2 separate regions of the Homo sapiens genome follow, and region 1 is linked to region 2. Evidence: promoter capture Hi-C in human tissues and cell types (Jung and others, 2019). All regions are on one chromosome and are shown on one strand. The core of a region is centred on a gene start or on the middle of the fragment in contact, and the rest is flanking DNA. Distances in the headings are between cores, read along the strand shown. Region 1 overlaps PCYT1A (phosphate cytidylyltransferase 1A, choline). Region 2 holds the start of TNK2 (tyrosine kinase non receptor 2).

The links. Contacts are between HindIII fragments. The study calls those that stand out against the background at their distance.
Region 1: a fragment that was not itself captured here is called in contact with the fragment with the promoter of TNK2 in region 2 in 1 of the 25 tissues and cell types used here (spleen).

What each region holds. Positions count from the first base shown.
Region 1 is chr3:196,268,762-196,272,868 of GRCh38, forward strand. PCYT1A (phosphate cytidylyltransferase 1A, choline) reads right to left here. Exons shown (of 9, transcript NM_001312673.2): 2 at 1,654-1,780. The coding sequence starts at 1,770. Among named protein-coding and RNA genes, the nearest start is that of PCYT1A, 17 kb to the right of the region's middle. The HindIII fragment of the contact is 3,023 bases long and covers 1,147-4,107 here.
Region 2 is chr3:195,907,162-195,911,146 of GRCh38, forward strand. It overlaps TNK2 (tyrosine kinase non receptor 2), which reads right to left and starts at 1,390. Exons shown (of 16, transcript NM_001382273.1): 1 at 1,324-1,390. TNK2-AS1 (TNK2 antisense RNA 1) reads left to right here and starts at 915. Exons shown (of 2, transcript NR_145450.1): 1 at 915-1,617; 2 at 2,704-3,985. RefSeq lists silencers at 1,604-1,853, 1,904-2,093, 2,144-2,793 and an enhancer at 2,924-2,973. The HindIII fragment of the contact is 14,484 bases long and covers 1-3,985 here.

The DNA of each region.
Region 1 (4,107 bases), core at 1,408-3,907, 360 kb after region 2:
TCCAGCCTGGGTGACAAAGCGAGACTCTGTCTCAAAAATACAAATAAAAATAAATAAAAATAAAAATAGTAAAGAGGCTTTGCAGATATGATTAAATAAAGGAAGATTATTCTGGTTTATCTGGGTATACCGAACGTAATCACAAGAGTCCTTGTAAGTGAAAAGGGGAAGTAGGAGGTTCAGAATCAGAGCAGGAGACATGGCAGAAGCAATCGTCAGAGTGATGTGAGCACTGGCTGGTGCCAAGCACTAAGCAATGTGGGAACCCTCTAGAAGCTGGAAAAGGCAAGAAGATGGACTTTCCCCTGGACCCTCCAGCTCTGCCAACACCCTGATTTTAGCCCTCTGAGACCCATTTCAGATTTCTGATATCCAGAACTGTAAGATAATTCATTTGTATATTTGTATTATGGTAATTTGTTACAAATGCAACAGGAAACAAATATATATACTTGCCCTTATGATCAATATCAGCCCTGCAGGCACTTGTCTATTTGTAGGGTATTATTTGCTTTTATTGCTCAAGACAGAGCATTCATTTGGAATAAGTATTAACTGTTTCAGAATAGATTTTTCCCTTTGGGCTGGGAAGCTCTAGAACTAAGCAGTGGAAACTGAGTTTGATCAATGGCTAATAGTCAATATAGGTAAAGAAACATACAATTCTGTCACTGGGATTTTGAAACACAGATTTCATAATAATATTAACAACAGTAGCTTCAATTGTGTGTAAGTGTTCTCTGACATGTTTTTATTATGGAAAGTTTTAGGAAGGGTAGCAAGCTGAGACAGGATAGGCAGTGTGGAGGAAAGCTTTAGGAAGGGTAGCAAGCTGAGATGGGATAGGCAGTGTGGAATGGGGTCTTTCATCTAAGGTTTGGCAATAATTAGGAAATACAAAGATAATTTTCCAGAGATAAAGGAGCATAAGGTAGGCATAAACGGAAAAAGGTTCTCATCTAAGATACAACTAGTAACAGGATGGAGGAATGATAGAGGGAGAAAAAACAGCAGAAAAGACGCACTAGACACCATGAGATGATACGAAGATCAAATCACTGCCTAGAGCCCCAATTTTTCTATTTCATTAGTTTTATTTATTTGTTTATTTACTTTTTATTTTTATTTTTGAGATAGGGTCTGTCTCTGTTGCCCAGGCTGGAATGCAATGGTGCAATCTCGGCTCACCGCATCCTCCGCCTCCCGAGTTCAAGCAATTCTCATGCCTCAGCCTCCCAAGCAGCTGAGATTACAGGCATGCGCCACCACGCCCGGCTAATTTTGTATTTTTAGTAAAGACAGGGTTTCACCAGGCTGGTCTCAAACTCCTGACCTCAGGTGATCCTCCCACCTCAGCCTCCCAAAGTGTGGGATTACAGGTATGAGTCACCGCACCTGGCCATATTTCAATAGTTTCAGCCTAATACACATGCAACTTCCATATTTTCCTAACACTTCTTTTTCTAAACCCAATGTAAAGCTTCTACAACTGAGCTGTGAGTCATAATCCAGTAAAAAGGCAGCAGATTTCCAGTGACTGTGAAAATACACTTACTATTCCTTCTTTTCATTATTTCAGAAGACATGTAACACTGATATCATCAATGTCATATCGGTTTCTACCCTCCCCCTGCCAGGTTAATCTCCACTTACCACTGCACAGCGCTGCACTTTGGAAGGAACCCCATCTTCTTCTGTTGCCCCGTTGGGTCCGGGCGCCTCTTTTCTCCTCTTCCTTGCATTGACCTTGGCTGAACACTGTGCATCCATCTTCTTTTAACTGGTCATAGAAAGTGAAAACAAAAATTTTCTCATTGGGGTGGGAAAAAGTTTGTCACCAGTATTTCAGAGACGTTGACGTGGATACACTCAGCAAAATACCAATTCTACAGCTGCACTTCACCAAGATGAGCCAATGGCATCTGGCAAAACCAGCGAAGCTTCACAAAACACAGGCTCTAGTAGAAATACTGAAACGCCTCTCTGTGCAACAATGGCCACAGTGAATTGCCTGAAGTCGGAAGTCATTCCCCCTCACAGTGCAGCCTACATACTAACTGCTCATTTTAAATCCTGATTGCATGCAAAAGATTGGAATAATTTGGCTGAGAAAGATAGTTACACAGACTCTCCCACTATCCTCCGCATCATCGATATGACAGGTATAAGGCAATGTGAAGGTATGACTGGTGCAGGTAGAGAAAAGAGCCTTTTGTAAACGGATGGCTCTCACCAAGTCCTGGATTAACAAAACACGGATTTCTTAACTCTAATTTTTTTTAAGACGGGGTCTCACTCTGTTGCCCAGGCTGGGGTGCAGTGGTATGATCTTGCCTCACTGCAGCTTCAACCTCGTTAGCTCAAGCGATCCTCTTGCCCCAGCCTCCCAAGTAGTTGGGACTACAGGCACATGCCACCACACCTAGTTATTTTTTTTTTTAAGAGACAGGCCTCGCTATGTTGCCCAGGCTGGTCTTGAATTCCTGGCCTCAAGTGATCCTCCCAACTCAAACTCCCAAAGACTTGGGATGACAGGCATGAACCACATCACTGAGTGAATTTCTTAACTCTAAAAGTTCTATAGATTTCAGTGACCACTTCACCAGAGTTACTTGCATGAAAATTGTGGAGTAGCATAATGGTTTTTATTTACTTTTTTATTGTTTTTATTTTTTTAGGGGTCTTGCTAGGTTGTCCAGGCTGGAGCGCAGTGGCTACTCACAGCCATAATCATAGCACACTGTAGCCTCAAACTCCTGAGCTTAAGCAATCCTCCCATCTGAGCCTCCAGAATAGCTAGGACCAGCATAATGTATTTTTTAAATGTCCTTCTCCTTCTTTCCTTTTTTTTTTTTTGAGAAAGAGTCTCACTGTGTCACCCTGGCTAGAGTGCAGTGGCACGATCTCGGCTCTCACAGCCATAATCATAGCACACTGTAGCCTCAAACTCCTGAGCTTAAGCAATCCTCCCATCTGAGCCTCCAGAATAGCTAGGACCAGCATAATGTATTTTTTAAATGTCCTTCTCCTTCTTTCCTTTTTTTTTTTTTTGAGAAAGAGTCTCACTCTGTCACCCTGGCTAGAGTGCAGTGGCACGATCTCGGCTCTCACAGCCATAATCATAGCACACTGTAGCCTCAAACTCCTGAGCTTAAGCAATCCTCCCATCTGAGCCTCCAGAATAGCTAGGACCAGCATAATGTATTTTTTAAATGTCCTTCTCCTTCTTTCCTTTTTTTTTTTTTTGAGAAAGAGTCTCACTCTGTCACCCTGGCTAGAGTGCAGTGGCACGATCTCGGCTCTCACAGCCATAATCATAGCACACTGTAGCCTCAAACTCCTGAGCTTAAGCAATCCTCCCATCTGAGCCTCCAGAATAGCTAGGACCAGCATAATGTATTTTTTAAATGTCCTTCTCCTTCTTTCCTTTTTTTTTTTTTTGAGAAAGAGTCTCACTCCGTCACCCTGGCTAGAGTGCAGTGGCACCATCTCGGCTCACTACAACCTCCGCCTCCCAGGTTCAAGCGATTCTCCTGCCTCAGCCTCCTGAGTAGGTGGGATTACAGGCACCCACCACCACGCCTGGCTAATTTTTTGTATTTTTAGTAGAGACAGGGTTTCCCTATGTTGGCCAGGCTGGTCTCGAACACCTGACCTCGTGATCCACCTGCCTCGTCCTCCAAAAGTGCTGAAATTACAGGCGTGAGCCATGGCGCCTAGCCAATTTTTGTATTTTTAGTAGAGACAGGGTTTTGTCATGTTGGCCAGGCTGGTCTTGAACTCCTGACCTCAGGTGATCCACCCACCTCGACCTCCCAAAGTGCTGGAATTACAGGTGTGAACCACTGCACCTGGCCCTTCCCCTTCTTTTCTCAGTACTCATTTCCCTTTCCTCTTTCAGGGTCTTAACACCTCAAGCTTGTTCACAGTTTCCAGCTATTAAAACCCCCTCAGGGATTCTCCTTCCCCCAAAGGAACTTATTTATTATTGTCTCATTTAGCAGAGAGTTTCTAGCAACTAGCTATTACAGCAAAGTTCTGAATATTCTGTATTTCATGTTTAAGTCACAGAATACTTGGGGTGTCACTTCGCTAGCCAGAAACCTC
Region 2 (3,985 bases), core at 140-2,639:
CGTTCTCTCCACTGAAGCCAGACAGTGAGAGCCACTCTGGCCATTCCAGAAGCGTCAGGCACCGTGGGCACAGCAGCTGAACTTCCGGTGCATGAGTGTTTGGGTGGCAGCGCGACAGGCATGGGATGAAGCTGACAGGCGGGTTTGAGTTTGTCTGAGGAGCGGGCTAACCGGCTCCTCCAGCAGCTGCTACCTCCAGCACCACTCCCTCTGCCCCCAGAGGAGAGCACCCAGTCTGGTTCGGGACAGGGGTCTGGGTCCATCTGACTCACAGCCACACCTCGGGCTGGGGCAGAGGAGGGTCCTCTAGCTAAGGCCCTGGGCAAGCAGCAACCCTGCACCCATCCCCACCCAGGGGCAGGGGAAGCAAGCACCTGACAGTGCCAGGTAAGAGGCGAACAGCTCTAGGAGAGTAAGGCCCACAAGCAGCCCGCCAAGCCCCCTGGGGGCACGAGGCGGAATGAGTAGGTCTGGCACTCAGGCCACGAGGGAGTCAACAAGCCAAATACAGCCCCCACCCTTGGCCCCTACAAGCCCTACCTCTAGACTGGGCTGGGAGCTCCTGTCCTGACAGGTGCAGAGCCCATGATACCACAGCGGCCCATCTGCAAACCTCCCCAGGGTGGGGCCACAGAGGCAGCCCAGAGCCCTGGGGTGCAAGTGCACCCTCCTCTCCCGCCCCTCTAACGCTGGGTCGTCCCACCCAGAGACGAGAGGGCTCACCAGTTGCTCTCCCTCCTTCCGCCCACTAATCATCCTTGGCTCTGGGCCCTCAGGGTAAATCAGCTGTGACAGGACGGCGTGGCAGAAGCGGGCCAGGCTCGTGCCGTACCCAAGCCACTAGCTGTCACACTCATCTCAGCTCACGTGACCAACAGGGTTACAAGATAAGGTTCTGTTAATCCCACGCTGCCCTCTTCCCTTCTGTGGGACGTGTTTTGAGGACTTGTGTGTTGACTGCACCATGCAGAGCATATAGCATGGAGGCACCCCTACTGCCATCGGGGGGCAGGTGGAGGGGGGACCGTCCTGCAGCTCCTCCCTGGGGCTACCCCTCTCTTCCCTCTGCACAGACCTGGCAGCCACCCAGACGTCCCGCCTGCTGCCTAGACTCTAAGAAGATGCCCTATCACTCCAATTACCATACACAGTACTGGCGGGGGAGAGGTCCTGCCTTGCCGCTGAAAACTGCACTGCTTCCTCCCTCCAGGGATGAAAGGCCAAAAGAACGAGGGCAGTGTGGAGTCTACGCTCTCGCCAGGGACCTGCAGCCTCTCACTTCCAAGCACACCAACTCCAGCTAACAGGACTGGGCTTCCTTACCTGCCGCCTTCCGCTGCCTCCCCGCAGACACAGCTTCAGCGACGCCCAGGCTGAGACGGCAGAAGAGGTTCCCGCCGGCCGCGGCCTGCCCTCAGGCAGTGGCTCCCAGAGCTCAGCGGTTCCCCGCACTCTTCTGCGCCCGACTCCCCATGCCCCTACATCCTGCGTCCCCTTCAGCCCCGGAGGTACCGTGGGGCCCGGGCCTGCCAGTCACCACCTCCTCCTCCGCCGGCGCCTCCGGGTCCTGAGCCCCTCGCCGGGTCCCTCTCCCTCCTGGGGCTCCTTCCCGTTCAGGTAGGTTTCCTGGACAGCCCGCACCACCTGTCCCTCCTGCACCCCGGGCAGCCAATTCGCCTCTTGCACCCCCAGGCGCCCCTCCCCCGCAGGCCCCCGGGGCCCCACCGGCCGGGCCCTCCCCACCAGCTCGGGGCGGCTTCGGGGCGCCGGGGCCGCTCCCAGGACCACCGCCTCCCGCCCGACGCTCTCCCACTGCCGCTCCCCCAGTTCGCCGGAACTTTCCGGCCCCTCCCTGCGCTCGCGGGGGCCTTCCCCGGACTCGGACGCCGGTTCGGGCTGCTGCAGCAGCCTCCGCGGGCTCCCCTCCCCGCGCTCCTGCACCCCGGCCCGGGCCTCGCCGCGCTCCTGCACTGCGGGGCTGCCTCCGCCCTTCTCCTGGTGCTGCCCGCGGGGCCCCAGCCCCTCCTCCTGCGCCACAGGCCAGCCCGCCGAGCCCGTCCACCACGGCGGGCGCCCCCAGCCCGCGCCGTCCGGCGGCCCCCACACCACCCCCCGGCTGGGCTCGTGGCCGCGGCCGCCGCGCTCCTGCAGCCCCGGGCCCACCCCGCCCTCCTCCTGCACCGCCGGGCCCACCCCGCCCCGCTCCTCCACGCCGAGCTTCAGCCCGCGGAGCTGCTGCGGGCCCCAGCTGAGAACCCCTACGCGCTGCGGCTGCTGCTCCGGCAGCGCAGGGCTCAGCCCGCCGCGCTCCTCCTGCGCGACCCGCCGGGGGCCCCCGACCGGCTCGGCCCAGCGCACTCGCTTGCCCCCCAGAGGCCGCGCGCTCCCACCCCTCCAGATGGTGCTGCCCTCGGCGCCCGCTCACACCGCCCGCCCGCCCCGGCCCTCCCCTCCCGCCCCGGGCCGCCCCCGAGTCCCGCGCCCGCCTCCCCGCCCTCGCCTCCGGGCGTCAACGTCGGCCCGCCGGGCGCCCGCCCCGCGCCGGCCCCCGCAGGTGAGCGCCCGCCCGCCGTCCCTCCTGCCGAGCGCCCCGAGCCCGCCTGCGCCTGCGCCTGCGCCGCCCCGGGGTGGGGGGTGGGGGGGAGTCGGCCCGCCCTCTTAAAGGGCCCGGCCTCATCGCTCCTCCCCCGGCTCCTCCCCCAGCCTCCGGGGCCCTACCCCGCTCTCCCCGACTCCCCCGGGCCCGGCCTGCGCCTTCCTGCGGTGCCGAGGAGCGGTGGCGCCCTGGGTGAAGAAGTCCCGCCGAGTCGAGGGGCGCAATGGAGGAGCGCCGGAACAGGTCTCTCATTCCGAGTAGCTACCGTTGCACTGTGCGAGTGTAAAAGTCACTTCCACCCGGTCTCAGTTGTTCCAACCTCAGTTGAAGTGAGGAGGTTGGACTGGAAGGTTTCTGGGGTCACTCCAGTGAGGCTGGGGTTCTAGTCCCAATCTCACCGTGGCACCCCAAAGGCCCAGAAACCCGGACCATCACCTCTCTTTCCCCGGGGCCAACGGAGCACTCCTGAAGGAGGGAGGGTTTGTCTCAGGCCTGACGATTCCTGATGAGGACTTGGGCAGAAACAGCCCCAGGCAAGCGGACCTTCATTCCTGCACTTGAGCCGTCTCCTCCCTGCCCCCACCCCAGAAGGAGAAAACCCAGCGCTCGGATTCCCAGCGGCGGGGCAGCCTGCAGGCCCTGTTCCCAGCCCACAGACCCATGTCCCAGCCCAAACGGAGGCAGCCCTGGGCAGCGGGCGCGTGGAGCCCAAGGGCTCAGGGCCACTCAGCCCTTGTTACTGTCCCTCATCTAGAAAATGGATGTAATAACAAAACAGTTCACGGTAGGTGGCAAGATCAGACACATCGGAAACTGTGTAGGGCTGGCTCTTTCTGCGCTCACACTGTCCAGCAATGGGCCCCAGGGACTTGGCCAGAGCGCAGTAGGGCAATGAGAAAGGGGTGGCTTCTGGAAACCTACACGAGGCCCAGTCTGGGTGGATTTGGGTGGCGGTCCCTTGCCTGCGAGGTGGGCAGGGCAACTTTCTACTAAATTATCTAACACTGCCAGTAATGGCAGCCCTTCCCCAGGGAGCCAGGAGGCTGGGCCAGGACCACCCCCCTGTCGCCTGGCTTCAGGAAAGAAAGTGGGGAAGACAACAGATTTGGGAGAAGGAAACTGAGGAGGTTTTCTCCCAGTCTCCCTCACGCTGCCTCAGTCATGGCCATTGCTAAGACTCACAGAGCCCAACTGTGCAAGGCCCTGCACTTCGCATTCTTCTCATCCAACCCCATGACAACCCAAGGAGACACATAATATCCCCATTTTACACGTGGCAGAACTGAGGTTCTACATGGCCAAGTGACTTGTTCAGTGCCATACAGCTGGTAGTAGTGAAGCCAGGATTCAAATCCAGCTTTCCGACTCTAAAGTCTAAGGCACAGACCG